Regions from separate parts of the Homo sapiens genome. Here all the other regions are linked to region 1. The links are contacts of gene promoters, found by promoter capture Hi-C in human tissues and cell types (Jung and others, 2019). All regions are on one chromosome and are shown on one strand. Each heading gives the region's core, a stretch centred on a gene start or on the middle of the fragment in contact. The rest is flanking DNA. Distances are from core to core; before and after follow the strand shown.

Region 1 (2,869 bases), core at 274-2,773:
GGCTAATGTCCCCTCCTTGATGGGGCCATCTCTGAGGATAGGGACGTGGCCCTAGTGCAGAGATGCTCAGGGATGTTTAGGGAAGGAAGTCATCAAGAGACCTAGATGTGAACCCCATCCATAGCGCCTCCCAAACCATGTGGTCTTGGCCTCCCTGGGCTTTGATTCCCTCATCAGTCCTGCCTGCGCTGCCAGGCTTCTGTGAGCCTTTAATGAGCCTGTGTTGACAGATGAATGCATTCTTGGGACTACTAATCAACGCATACAACTAAGGCCAAGAGAAGCCAGGGTTTCTACCCCAGGGACCCCCTTGGCCCCACCCTCTAGCCCTGGAGCTGGGTCCCTCTGCCTCTCCCAGGATGCAGTCAGAGGCCTGAGCTTCTGGAAACTCTTGGATCTCGTCCCTGCTCCTCCCAGTCCCACCTCGGCTCCAGGTGTCTATCTCTCCAGCTATTTTCTTTTCTGATCTGGAGTTCAAAAGAACAGATCTAGGAGCAACAGCCACGGGGAACAACAGCCAGCAGGCTAGTTCATGTTGGCCCAGCTGAGAGCCTGCGGGGCTGCCCACCTCTCCCTGCTGGGTTTGGGCACCCAGAAAGGAGGGCGTATGGGTTCTGGTTCTATGGGCATTAAAAGCCAATGTGACTGAGAACAGCAGCTCTAGTTAGAGGCAAGGCCAGTTTGGGGCCAGAGCAGGGGGAGGGGGAACCTGGTCTAATTAGAGCCCTAACATGCTCCTTTGAAAGCATTGTCAGATGTCCCCAGCCCTGCAGGCAGGGGTGGTGTAATAATAATAAAACAACATTTGCATAGAGATTTCATTTATAAAGCACTTTCTCAGGGGTGGGGTGGCACTGGGTGGCCCTGTGGAATCCTGGCTGGGAGGCCGCCCTGGCCTTGGTCGGTTCCGCCCTCCCGCCAAGCTGGCGATTGTGTGCGAGGTAAACAAAGCGCCATTCATCCAACTGTTTCAGTTCCTCTCCTCTTCATTCCTTTTTCCCTGTCTCCCACGAAGAGCTCACTCGGGGCTTGTCACTCAGGCCAGAAAAGGGGTGTCAGGGGCCCCAGAGGGAGACCCCTTCCCTCATGGGAAGAAGCGGGGAGGTGGGACGGCTCCCTCCCTCTGCAAACCCCCACCACCCCCAGCTCTGGCAGAATAACAGCCTTGCTGCGGTTGGTTTGTGCAACTCTTTGCTAACCTGTGGCTGTGTCTTCATGGACAAAGTATGAGCCCAGGTTTGGTAATGTCTGTGTGCACGCCACGTTTGTGTTCGGTAACATGCAAAGATAAGCAGTTTGTGGGGCTCTGCGAATCCCTCCCTATCCGAGTGAGCCTTGTGTACACAGTGTGGGGGTGAGGGGCCCTGGGGTGTCTGCCCCTGCACTGGGTGGGCCGGGTGAGGCAGCTGGGCCCTGCTCCTGTACAGCCCAGGCTGGAGCGTCCCCTGCAGTCACCTGGCCACTGGCACCCTGGGGTGAAGGGGGAGGCATTGGGCGCTGGCCCCTTAAGGGCCTCTGATGAGCTATATTGGGCCCACCTGCCTGGGTTCCAGCAGCTTCCGCAGCCCCAGCAGGAGACGGAAGATGCAAGAGGTCATTGCGGGGCTAGAGCGGTTCACCTTTGCCTTCGAGAAGGATGTCGAGATGCAGAAGGGCACTGGGCTCCTGCCTTTCCAGGGCATGGACAGTGAGTGAGGGTGGGGCCACTTTCCCTCCCCTACCTTCTCTGTTTTTTTTTCTTTGAGACGGAGTCTCGCTCTGTAGCCCAGGCTGGAGTGTAGTGGCACAATCTCGGCTCATTGCAAGCTCTGCCTCCTGGGTTCACGCCATTCTCCTGCCTCAGCCTCCCGAGGAGCTGGGACTACAGGCGCCCGCCACCACGCCCAGCTGATTTTTTGTATTTTTAGTAGAGACCGGGTTTCACCATGTTAGCCAGGATGGTCTCAATCTCCTGACCTCGTGATCCGCCCGCCTTGGCCTCCCAAAGTGCTGGGATTACAGGCATGAGCCACCACGCCCAGCCTCCCTCCCCCTTCCTTCTCTACAGGCCTCTCTGCTCAACTCCCTGATGCGACCGCCCCTTCTCTGTCTCTCTCTTCTGTGGCTTCGGGGCAACCCATTTTCCAGACTGAGAAAGAGAGGCACAGAGAGACGGTGAATTGAGAGAAGCCACACTGGCCTCCCGAGCTCCTGGGCCAGGCTTGAGCCCCTCGAGCTCCTCTGTTTCAGAGTTGGGGGGTTAAGGGTTGAGGTCTGCTGGCTGGCTCTGCAGGTTAACCTCTACAGGGCCCAGATTTGGGATCCCATAGGCCAGAGCCTGGGGGAGGTCTAGGTGGGACATGCCGATGGAGGTGGAGGCTTCCGGAACAGCTGCAGCCTCTGGGGAAGCTACCTTCTCCGTTCCCTCTTCTCCTTCCAGAGTCGGCCTCAGCTGTGTGCAACTTCTTCACTAAAGGGCTCTGTGAGAAAGGTGAGTTAGCAGACAGGCCTGGGCCCCAAGCTGGGTGAGTGTAGGGTCTGTCTGAGCTACACCCAGCAGGGGCTCTGCCTGGCCTGGGATAGGGTGTCGAATTTGCACCTGGGGAGGGAAAATTGGGATGGAACGGAATTTTATTTTTATTTTATTTATTTATTTTTAGATGGAATCTCGCTCTGTTGCCCAGGCTAGAGTGATCTGGCGTGATCTCAACTCACTGCAACCTCTGCCTCCTGGGTTCAAGCGATTCTCCTTCCTCAGCCTCCCGAGTAACTGGAACTACAGGTGCATGCCACCAAGCCCGGCTAATTTTTGCATTTTTAGTAGAGATGGAGTTTTGTCATGTTGGCCAGGCGGGTCTCAAACTCCTCACCTCAGGTGATCCACCTGCCT
Region 2 (2,869 bases), core at 267-2,766, 510 kb after region 1:
ATGAGTGAGAACATATGATGTTTGGTTTTCCATTCCTGAGTTACTTCACTTAGAATAATAGTCTCCAATCGCAACCAGGTTGCTGCAAATGCCATTAATTCATTCCTTTTTATGGCTGAGTAGTATTCCACTGTGTGTGTGTGTGTGTGTGTGTGTGTGTGTGTGTGTGTGTGTGTATGTGTATATATATATATATATATATATATACATATATACATATCACAGTTTCTTTATCCACTTGTTGATTGATGGGCATTTGGGCTGTTTCCACATTTTTGCAGTTGTGAATTGTGCTGCTATGAACGTGTGTGCAGGTTTTTTTTTTTTTTTTTTTTTTTGTATAATGACTTTTCCTATGGGTAGATATCCAGTAGTGGGATTGCTGGATCCAGTGGTAGTTCTACTTATAGTTCTTTAAGGAAATACTTTGAAGTGAAATTTCAGAGTTGTCAGGGAGGCCTGTTAGGGAAACAGACTTGTACAACCCTGGAGAATGCCCTTTCCAACTATCGTCAATGTCAACCCGCCTCCCTGAATGTGCTCTGAAGGTAACAGATCCCCAGACACCTGAGAAAAACCCAAAGAATGAAAAAAAGGGACTGAAGTAAGTAGGACAACCTACTCTGGAGAAAACAGGGAGCCCAGGAGACAGAAGAACATAAAAATTCAAAGCAGTATGTTCAGCTGGAGATTCAAGAGCATATTTATCATGCTCATAAAGCAAGAACTGACTGTGATAAAAATGAATAATCAGAGAATAAGAAAGAGTTCTTGAAAATTAATCATATCGTATAATTGCCAGAATTCTTTTAGAAAGTTAAATGGATAGATTCATTAGAATATTCTGAATGAAAGGCCAAGCAGGTTATCTGGAAGGTTAAGTAGAAGACAATTCTCCAGTTCCCAAACACAAAGTCAAAGATGTAAGGTATGTGTGCAGGCATGTGGGGAAATTTTTCCTGAGCTGAAAAAAAGCACAACCTTGTAGATTTAAAAGACCACCTAATGCTGAATAGTGGGAATGGAGAAAATACCCCACTCAGACATATCTTGATGAATCTCAAAACTCTGAAAACAAGCAGTGGCTCATGCCTGTAATCCCAGCACTTTGGGAGACCGAGGTTGGAGGGTCACTTGAGTCCAGGAGTTCGAGACCAGCCTGGCCAACATATGAAGACATGGTCTCTACAAAAACTAAAAATAAATTAGCTGGGCATGGTGGCATGCATCTGTGGTCCCAGCTACTCAAGAGGCTGAGGTGGGAAGATTGGTTGGGCCCAGGAGGTCAAGGCTGCAGTGAGCCATGATGGCACCATTGCACTCCAGCCCGGGCCACAGAGTGAGACCTATCTCAAAAATCAAAACAACACCACCACCAACAAAAACTCCAGAAACAAAGATGAAATTGTTGAGAGCTTCCAGAGAGAAAAGTCTTCTTAAATACAAGGAAATGAGAATGGAATTAGCATCAGACTTTTCAGCAGCAGCATCAGATACTGGAAGATGATGGAACAATACCCTCAAGACATTGAGCAGGCCAGGCACCATGGCTCATGCCTGTAATCCCAGCACTTTGGGAGGCCAAGGCAGGAGGATTACTTGAGCCCAGGAGTTAGCGACCAGCTGAGGCAATACAGTGAGACCCTGTCTTAAAAATAAATAAAAAGAAAAAAGATACTAAGGCCCGGGCGTGGTGGCTCACACCTGTAATCCTAACACTTTTGGGAGGCTGAGGCAGGCAGATCACCTGAGGTCAGGAGTTCGAGACCAGCCTGGCCAACATGGTGAAACCCCATCTCTACTAAAAATACTAAAGTTAGCTGGGCGTGGTGGTGCGTGCCTGTAATCCCAGCTACCTGGGAGGCTGAGGCAGGAGAATTGCTGGAACCCGGGAGGCGGAGGCTGCAGTAAGCCAAGATCACGCCACTGCTCTCCAGCCCGGGTGACAGAGCGAGACTCCATCTTAAGAAAGAAAAAACAGAAAAAAAGATATTAAGGAGAGGTAACTTGGGATGCAGCACTTTCAAGTCAAGCTATTAAGTCACAGAGAAAAATCAAAATTTTTCTTTTCTATGTCAGGGTTCAGAAGTTTATCACCCACACATCCCGTAGGAGGTTAAGGAGGCCCCCTGACAAAATGAAGAAGGGACACAAGGGGATAATATGACATAAGAAAGAGGGCATCACAGATACTGTGTGAGTCCTGCTCTGCGAGACACCTGAGGAGTCAGTGGCACAGAGGCAGGAAGTAGAAGGATGGTTGCCAGGGGCTGTGGGAGGGAGGAGGAGGAATGGGGATCTGGGTTCAGTGGGTGGAGAGTTTCAATTATGCAAGATAAAAAGAGCTCTGGAGCCGGGTGCAGTGGCTCATACCTGTAATCCCAGCACTCTGGGAAGCCAAGGCAGGCAGATCACTCGAGGCCAGGGGTTCGAGACCAGCCTGGCTGACATAACAAAACCCTGTCTCTACCAAAATTACAAAATTAGCCGGGCATAGTGATGCATGGCTGTACTCCCAGCTACTGGGATCACTGAGGTACAAGAATCACTTGAATCCAGGAGGCGAAGATTGCAGTGAGCTGAGATCATGCCATTGCACTCCAGCCTGGGCGACGGAGCAAGACTCTGTCTCAAAAAAAAACCAAAGAGCTCTGGAGATGGGTGGTGGCGATGGCTGTACAAAAGTGATTGCACTTAATGCCAATGAATGTACACTTAAAAATGAGGAAGATGCTCAATTACATGTTATTCATTCACATTTTATCACAATTAAAAATGGTAATAAGAAAGGGAGGAAGGAAGGAAAGAACCTAATTAAAACCTAGACGATGAGAGGATGGGGGCCACGATTCTTAGAACTGTCTTCTTC
Region 3 (2,869 bases), core at 240-2,739, 400 kb before region 1:
GAAAAAAGCAATGCCCAAAAATGGCTGACAAATTTTTGAAAAAGAAGTACAATGAATAAGGTCTTGCTCTATAGGCAGCAAAACATACTATACAGATATTTGTTAAGATAACATAGCTATGATGCAGAAATAGACAATCAGATCAAATAACCAGAATAAAGAACAGAAACAGATACATTATAATTAGCTGTGGTTTCCATGCAGTGGAATTGATCACTAAAACTTATGTCTCTAGTGTAAATGAAACATCGTACCCTTTGATCAACCTCTCCCTTCTCTGCGTTCTTCCCTACCCAACCCCAGCCCTAGTGCGCAGTAACCACTTGTCTACTCTCTGTTAGTATGAGATCAATTTTTTTAGATCCCACATATCCATGAAATCATACAGTGCTTGTCTTTCTGTGCTTGGCTTATAGTCTGCTCTGGCGAGGAGGGTATGAGACTTCCACGTGCTGAAGCAGGAGACTGGGCTCAACCTCCACTTCCCGGGTTCAAGCGATTCTCCCACCTCAGCCTCCCAAGTAGCTGCAACTACAGGCGCATGCCACCACACCAGGCTAATTTTTGTATTTTTAGTAGAAATGAGGTTTCACCATGTTAGCCAGGATGGTCTCGATCTCCTGACCTCATGATCTGCCCGCCTCAGCCTTCCAAAGTGCTGGGATTACAGGCATGAGCCACTGTGCCCGGCCCAAATTACTTTTAAATATACAGATGCTCCTCACCTTATGATGGGGCTACATCTTGATAAATCTTAGGTAAGCTTCAATCTTAGGTTGAAAATATCGTAAGTAGGAAATGCATTTATTGCACCTAATCTACCAAACACCCCTAGCCTACTTCAAATGTGCTCAGAACACTGACATTAGCCTACAGTTAGACAAAATCATCTAACACGAAGCCTATTTTATAATAAAGTATGTAATATCTCATGTAATGTATTGAATACTGCACTGAACATGAAAAACAGAATGGTTGCATGGGCACTGAAAGCATGGTTTCTACTGAATGAGTATCACTTTGGCACCATCGTACAGCTCCAGGAGATAAGGACCTCACTGCCAAAGAGATCCTCTGACTTTCACACTTTGCTCTGAATTGGTGATTAATAAACTTGGGCCCGCCATTTCTTTCTTTGCTGCACTAGTGTCTCTCAGAAACAGCCTCTCAATTCCATAATCCTTATAATTACTGTCTCTGCTATAATGCTCCAATGCCAGAAATATTGCAAAAGCCAGTACATCCCCTTCCAACTGTAAGCTGTCACAGAAATTGTATCGCTACCAAATGCCAGGAGCTATCATTTCTCCTTCTATCACCAGTGTTGAGTTTCTCATTGCCAGCGGGTTATCCAACTGCAGACTCCCGTTCTTAGCATTTGCTTCTCCTGGCACCAACTGTCTTATGTCAGGGTCCTTAGAAGAGTGGTTCTCAAAGTGTGGTCCCTGGACCAGCATCATCAGCATCAACTTGCTAGAAATGCAAATTATGGACCCTTTCCTAGACCCACTGAAACAGGCAGTGGAGGGGAAGCCCAGCGATGTGTGCTTTAACAAACCCTATTGGTGTTTCTTTTCTTTCTTTTTTGAGACAGGGTCTTGCTCTGTTGTCCAGACTGGAGTGCAGTTGCCCAAGTATGGGTCGCTGCAGCCTTTACATCCCAGTCTCAAGTGATTCTCCCGCCTTAACCCGCCAAGTAGCGGGGACTAAAGACACATGCACCATGCCTGGAAAATTTCTTTGTTTCATTTTTTGTGGGAACAAGTTCTCCCTATGTTGCCCAGGCTTGTCTCAAACTCCTGGGCTCAAGCAATTCTCCCACCTCAGCCTCCCAAAGTGCTGGGATTACAGGTGTGAGCCACCACACCTGGACGGTGATTCTCATACATGAGAAAGATAAAGAACCATCACCCTCAAAGCGGAGCCTGAGATGAGAATTCTGGTGCAGGAGAGTTCTTAAAGGAATCCTCCCAGGAGGAAGACGAGAGGACATGAGGAACACAGAATAAGTCAGGAAAAGCAGCGAGGCAAAGATGCGGGCTCTGCTGATGTCCTCCCACAGCCCACAGTGAGCTCTGGAGCATGAATGGTACCACAAAGCTGTCCCCGCTTGAGACAATAAGGCCAGCCTTGTACACCTGCATCAGTCAGCCATTGGCTAAAGCAACCCCTGCCATGCGGGGCTAAGGGAAGTTTCCAGACATCTCCAGCTGAGGCCACTCTAGTGGCCATGGGCAATTCTCTGAGGAAGGGCAGCTGTGACCTTTCAGCCACCAACACTTGCAGCCCCTGGGGGATGGGCACAAGCTCCCGCAAAGGCCCATGTATCTGGTTGGGGTCCTAGCAGCATCTACGCCAAAGTGCCCAGAGCTTGTTGATGTTCTTTGCAGCAGGAAAACACAGCAAGGCAGCCTGCGGTCATGGAAAATGCCCTGGACAAAAAGTCAAATGACTGGGATTTGAGCCCAGCACCAAACTACAGTTCTGTGGCCTTATCTTTGGCCTCAGTTCCCATGTTTATAACAAGGGGCTGACACTGCTACTATGCTTGTGAACGTCAAATTAGGTAATATATGTAAAACTGCATTAGAAACTTGAAATCATAAAAGAATATTATATATTTTATGCTTTCCGTTGAGCAGAAAAATAAATACGTAATTTACCTTTGGTGATAAGGATTTATGACAGAGGTATAATTCCTAGATCACCGGGTTGAGCATTTTCGCCTTAACTAGATATTGCCAAATTGCTCTCTAAAACGATTATGTCAATTGTCACTCCCACCATCAGCAGCATATGAAAGGTCCCATTGCCTCGCCACCTGGCCGGTTCTCTCTCATTTGCTTTGGCCAGTCTAATGGGTCAGAGA
Region 4 (2,869 bases), core at 185-2,684, 360 kb before region 1:
ATTCCTGGCATTGCTTTCCTTGGCCGTGAGGATGGCAGGGGTGATCGGGGAATAGGAAGTTGCCTGTCTAAGTACCTTCCCTGTAGAAGAGTCTTGCTTGGCCTCTGCTTCCCTGACTCCCCCATGCCGTTCTTGGGCACCACGTGGACTCTAGATTCCAAAGGGAAACACCCTTCCTGTTCATGGGGCAGAAATGGAGACTCCTTTTTCCTCTCTCATTTCTCACACTGTCCTGGGCATACAGTAGGTTTTTTATAGTTCCTTGCTGATTAATTAAGAGGTCATGATTCTAAAAGGGCAAAGGAGTGATGCTTCCTTGAATCCTTGTGGCTCCATAGCCCTTGGGCTTGGCCGACCACTGCCTCCCTGGAGAATCTTGTTTTGACGACTATAAATGAATCCACAGGCACAGCGAGCTCTCCCTCTCCATGGGGAGAGGCCAGTTGGCATGAACGGCCATTTCTGCCCCAAGCCAGAAGCAAAACATAAAATGAGGCTGGGCAAAGGTATGGGGTCTAATTAAGAGGGACACTCCTAGGTATAAGAGCTGCGTCATTTACAGGCTAATGAATGGGTTTGGGTTAGCAAATTACCATTTCCCTACCTGCAGGTAAGGAAACCTATCTATTGGTTCAAGGTCTCTTGCATTTGCCTGGTATTAAATTAAGCACCTCTCTCCCCTTTAACAGGCTTCTCTCCCTGGCCCATCACACTCCATGGGACCTCCCTGGCTCCTTGGCCTGGTGGGTTCGGTCTAGTGGTTAACTCGTCAGACAGCAGCTTGCCCTCCTGACATCTTGTTTTTCTTTGTTCTGTTTTGTTTTAAGGCGTTTAGATCTCGATGTGTTCTCAAAACAGGGTTGTTGGGTATTTTGTTTTGTTTTAGTTTTACCATATCCCAGAGGCCGGGGGATGGATGAGATGACTTCCAGAGGCCTTTTCAGGCTCCCTCTTATGATGTCCTGTTTTTCTGGAGGTGAATTGGGAATTCTTTAGTTAATGGGCATAAAGTGCTTTGAAAACACAAATTGTTAAGTGGCATCAGGGACAGACTCACTAATTATTTATGAGTTCAGGAGAGCCAGTTAATTCTCCAGGAGATGGAGTTGTATTGGCAGGGGGTTGGTAAATCACTCAGGAGAACGCAAATAGCTGGGACGCCCCCTTCGTAAGCTCCCCTGGAGCCTGTCGACTAGGTATGCTGGACAGGGAGAGATCTCTGCAGCCAGAGGACAGCTCTAAGGGCCTTGTTGCCTGTCACCCTCCTCCCCACCTTGGCTGAAGTTAAAAATCAGAGCCAGGAGCCAGAAGGGCCCCTGGGGGTCTCTGGGTTCATTTCCTTGCCTTAGAGCAAAACTGCATTCAAACCATCCTAGAAAGAGAAGCATTGACTCTTTGCCTCCTAAGAACCCCCTGAAGCCCTCTCCCCTCCCCTCCGCAGGAGGCCTCTCCCCTCCCCTCTGCAGGAGGCCTCTCCCCTCCCCTGGAGCCCTCTCACCTCCCCTCTGCAGGAGGCCTCTCCCCTCCCCTCTGCGGGAGCCCTCTCCCCTCCTCTCTGCAGGAGGCCCCTCCCCTCCCCTGGAGCCCTCTCCCCTCCTCTCTGCGGGAAGCTTCTCCCCTCCCCAGAGGCCTCTCCCTTCCCCTCTACAGCCCTTCACCTTCTTTGCTCAGTGCGAGGTCAGCTCTCTCAACCACCCCTGCCCACAAGCATGCTCACAGCTATGGCCTTCCATTCCTTCATTCATTCAATAAACATGTGTCGTGGGCCTCCCATGTGCCATGCATGGGCCTGTGAAAACCCGCCCTCTCATCCCAGCACCTTTTCTAGACCTCCGCTCTCCCTAGGAGAGCTGTCTCTCCGCCCACTTTGTCTCCCCTCTGCATTCTCAGCTATCCCCACTTCAGAAGGGGCTTCTGTGTCCCTGAGCCCTGGAATCTGACCCCTTCCCCAGGCATCTCATGGTGGGAATGCGCACAGTGCAGTGCCTGCAGCTCTGAGAGCACCTCCCTCACCTCTCAGGCACCTCTCTAAGGGCTGGGCCCAGGAGGAAAGTGGCTTCCTATCCTGTAACTCTCACAGCATTCTGCAAAAACTAGCTGGACTAGTTAGTTTCTTATCTTCCTTCGTTTATAGCATCATGGAACGTTCATTTTCTCAGCCCCAAACACCCAGGACTAAGATTCCATTACTCCAGAAAAAGGATCTGCTGCCACGTGGTAATTCAGCCAGGAGAACGAAACAAACCAAAGCAACAAACCAAACAAAGACAAATGCGTGCTCAGGCCTAAGCATTGCGACAGTGGTCCTTGAGGCCACGGTCAGCCTGCCCAAGTGAAAGGAAATCACCGTTGCTTGCCTCTTTCCCTCTTGTTTTTTTCTCCTTCCTGAGCCTGCATGTGTGTGTGGGATGCTGAGCTGGGGCTGGGGAGACTGTTGAGGTGGGGAGCCGGGGGTGGAAATTTGTCTAGCTCAGACAGGCGGGGAGAGGGTGGGGAAGGCAAGCAGCACCGGGATGCCTGGGGCTGCCGAGCACAAGGTTCACAGTGCCCTGAGGTCAGTTTGCAAGGTAGCATGCAAGTGGCTTGCCTTTCTGGTCGCTTCCTGATGTTCTGGGGAAGAGGAGGTACCGATTCCACAAACTGGATCATATGTCTACTTCATGCACACTGTCAAGCTCAGATGCAGAGGGAAGAAGTATGTATGTGTGTGTACGTGTGTGTATGTGTGTTCATGTGTATATGCATATGTGTCTACATGCATGCGTGTGTACGTGTATTTGGGTTGTGTGTTCATGTGCATGTGTAGGCATGTGTGTCACATGCATGTGTATTTGTGTATATATGTATGTGACTGTGTGTACATATATGT
Region 5 (2,869 bases), core at 175-2,674, 290 kb after region 1:
AATAAAGTCATGCATTACTCAACGGTGGGGATACATGCTGAGAAATGTCTCATTGTTCAAACATCATAGAGTGTACTTACCCAAACAAAGATGGGATAGCCTACTGCACACATAGGCTGTAGGGTGTAGCCTATTGCTCCGAGGCTACAAACCTGTATAGTATGTTACTGTGTTGAATGCTGTGGACAACTGTAACACAATGACAAGTATTTGTGTATCTGAACATAGAAGAGGTGCAGTAAAAACATGGTATAAAAGATAAGAGGTAGTACACCTGTCTAGGGCACTCATCATGAATGGAGCTTGCAGGGCTGGAAGTTGCTCTGGGTGAGTCAGTGAGTCAGTGAGTGAGTGGTGAGTGAATGTGAAGGCCTAGGACATTACTATACACTACCGTAGACTTTGTAAACACTGTATACTTAAGCTACACTAAAGCAATCAAAATATTTTTCTACAATAATACATTGGCCTTAACTTACTGTAACATTTTTACCTTATCAGCTTGTAAAAACGTTTTGACTCTTTTGTAATAACACTTAGCTTAAAACACACTGTAAAGCTGTAGCTGTACAAAGGTATTTTCTTGTTTGATATCTTTGTTCTGTAAGCTTTTTTCTATTAAAAAATTTAAATTCCTTTTTACTTAATTTTTTTTTTTTTTTTTTGGTACAAAATGAAGATACAAATGCAAACATTAGGCCGGGTGTGGTGGCTCACACCTGTAATCCCAGCACTTTGGGAGGCCAAGGTGGGTGGATCACCTGAGGTCAAGACTTAGAGACCAGCCTGGCCAACGTGGCAAAACCTTGTCTCTACTAAAATTACAAAAATTAGCCAAGTGTGGTGGCGGGCGCCTGTAATCCCAGGTACTCAGGAGGCTGAGGCATGAGAATCAGTTGAACCTGGGAGGTAGAGGTTGCGGTGAGCCAGATCGCGCCACTGCACTCCAGCCTGGGTGACAGAGTGAGACTCCATCTCAAGAAAATAAAAAATAAAATAAGCACGAATGTTAGCCTAGGCCTACAAAGGGTCAGGATCATCCAGATGTCACTAGGCAATAGGAATCTTTCACTCTGTTATGATCCTGTGGAATCACTGTCTTATATGTCACCCACTGTTGACTTTCATGTCATCATGCACACAAGACTGGACTGTCACCTCGGAGCTTAGGAATCCACTGTATTAATTTTGGGAGGACACAAACTTTCAGACCATGGTACCTACTGAATCACTTACTGGCCAGGTGCGGTGGTTCATGCCTTAATCTCAGCACTTTGGGAGTCCGAGGTACGTGGATCGCTTGAGCCCAGGAGTTCAAGACCAGCTTAGGCAACATGGTGAAACTCCATCTCTACAAAAAATTTTAAAAAATTAGCTGGGCATGGTGGCACATGCCTGTGATCCCAGCTACTTGGGAAGCTGAAGTGGGAGGATCATCTGAGCCCCAGAGGTCGAGGCTGCAGTGAGCTGTGATTGTGCCACTGCACTCCTGCCAGGGTGACAGAGTGAGACCCTGTCTCAAAAAAGAAAAAAATCCACTTATCCTTTTGTCTTTCTAACAGAACTCCAATTCTGTTTGATCTAGCAATGTGCCTACCTATAATTCCTAGACCTACAGCCTCCCCTGCAGCCCAGGGAAACCATGTGAGGTCAGCAAAAGTCATCAGGGAGGTTGTCCCTTCTCATCTTCTACTTGCCCTTCCTTCTCCTGGAAACAGCAGGGTGGTCCTTGGGGTGCGACAGCCATCACTCAGGTGACAGAGTAGCCTGGTGCCCCCCCGGCAGTGCTGGGGCCACTGTACCCGCTGGATGGCTGACCCTGGTCCTTCTGCTGACCCAGACAAATAAACCTTTCCTGTGTAAGTCGCTGCAGTAGGGTTTTCTATTTCTTCTAATCAAACCTAATCTTAACTAGTTGTTTGAGCCAACTTTTATGCAAGGAAAAGATGGTTTCCATAATTTTTCTATGTTATTGTTTGTTCACGTTTCCTAAGGAAAGGACAAGCAGAAGGCAGCTTGGGGTATTTATGGTGGGCTTCGTGGTGTGCATGTGGGCACAAAGGGCTCAGCTGAAGCCTGTGTGGTCGCTGTCCAGGAGCTCGGTTGAAGGAGCTGGTCATGGTGTCCAGCAACCCACAGCATCCTTTTCCTTCCTGCCTGACCTACCACAGAGGTTGGTGTTTATTTTTGAGACCTGGACAAATTAAAAAGAATATCCAACAGGAGGGTTGGCCAAAACTTGACCTTGGCAGGGAAGGTCAGGACAGGAGGCCAGACAACTAAATGTGATGACCACAGTGATTTCCACGGGCAGAGCAATATCCTGTTTCTAAAGCCGGCTCCAAGAGGCCTAGTGAGGGCTGTCTTTGGTTGCTACAGTCTGGGAAGAGATCCTCATGGACCCCAGGAAATAATCTGTGTTTGGCAAATAGAGAAGAACAAACTTAGAAACAGTGACCTTTTCTTTGTAAGCTTCTCGGAGGGTTGTAATGATGGAAAATAATTATTAAGTCTCCGTTGGCTCAGGGCCCCTGAATGGAAATGGGAGAGGATATTGATTAGCTCAATGGCTCTTTAAAGAGCTCGCTGTGTTTGCCCTCATGCCTCATAAGCAGACAGCCTCTTTTCTGTCTCCATACTTATTGGATTTTAGATGGCAACGCACACAAATACTGCTTTCACTGAGTAAATATTAGGTTTACGATTGGATCGGGAGACCACAGAACACATCTATGAAATGGAAGGGTGGGGCGGTGATGTGTATTGCAATGCCCTTACCTGGCTGGGCTGTGAACACTTCATCTCACTTCCCACCCACTGATTTGCATCCTTGGCTCTCTGGACATGATGGGCCGTGATGGCTGTCACC

What was found. Contacts are between HindIII fragments. The study calls those that stand out against the background at their distance.
Region 2: a contact is called between a fragment that was not itself captured here and the fragment with the promoter of CPSF4L in region 1, in 4 of the 25 tissues and cell types used here (dorsolateral prefrontal cortex, liver, lymphoblastoid cells and 1 more).
Region 3: a fragment that was not itself captured here is called in contact with the fragment with the promoter of CPSF4L in region 1 in 1 of the 25 tissues and cell types used here (thymus).
Region 4: a fragment that was not itself captured here is called in contact with the fragment with the promoter of CPSF4L in region 1 in 2 of the 25 tissues and cell types used here (H1 embryonic stem cells and mesendoderm cells).
Region 5: a contact is called between a fragment that was not itself captured here and the fragment with the promoter of CPSF4L in region 1, in 3 of the 25 tissues and cell types used here (dorsolateral prefrontal cortex, liver and pancreas).

Annotation. Positions count from the first base shown.
Region 1 is chr17:73,260,534-73,263,402 of GRCh38, reverse strand. CPSF4L (cleavage and polyadenylation specific factor 4 like) reads left to right here and starts at 1,523. Exons shown (of 6, transcript NM_001129885.1): 1 at 1,523-1,687; 2 at 2,420-2,470. The coding sequence starts at 1,585. The HindIII fragment of the contact is 16,084 bases long and covers 1-2,869 here.
Region 2 is chr17:72,751,359-72,754,227 of GRCh38, reverse strand. The region is part of intron 6 of SLC39A11 (solute carrier family 39 member 11); the gene reads left to right. Among named protein-coding and RNA genes, the nearest start is that of LINC00511, 110 kb to the right of the region's middle. The HindIII fragment of the contact is 4,804 bases long and covers 1-2,869 here.
Region 3 is chr17:73,658,900-73,661,768 of GRCh38, reverse strand. No RefSeq gene overlaps it. Among named protein-coding and RNA genes, the nearest start is that of SDK2, 16 kb to the right of the region's middle. The HindIII fragment of the contact is 4,792 bases long and covers 1-2,869 here.
Region 4 is chr17:73,615,895-73,618,763 of GRCh38, reverse strand. All of the region lies in intron 1 of SDK2 (sidekick cell adhesion molecule 2), which reads left to right. Among named protein-coding and RNA genes, the nearest start is that of SDK2, 27 kb to the left of the region's middle. The HindIII fragment of the contact is 3,199 bases long and covers 1-2,869 here.
Region 5 is chr17:72,972,228-72,975,096 of GRCh38, reverse strand. The region is part of intron 4 of SLC39A11 (solute carrier family 39 member 11); the gene reads left to right. Among named protein-coding and RNA genes, the nearest start is that of SLC39A11, 120 kb to the left of the region's middle. The HindIII fragment of the contact is 5,164 bases long and covers 1-2,869 here.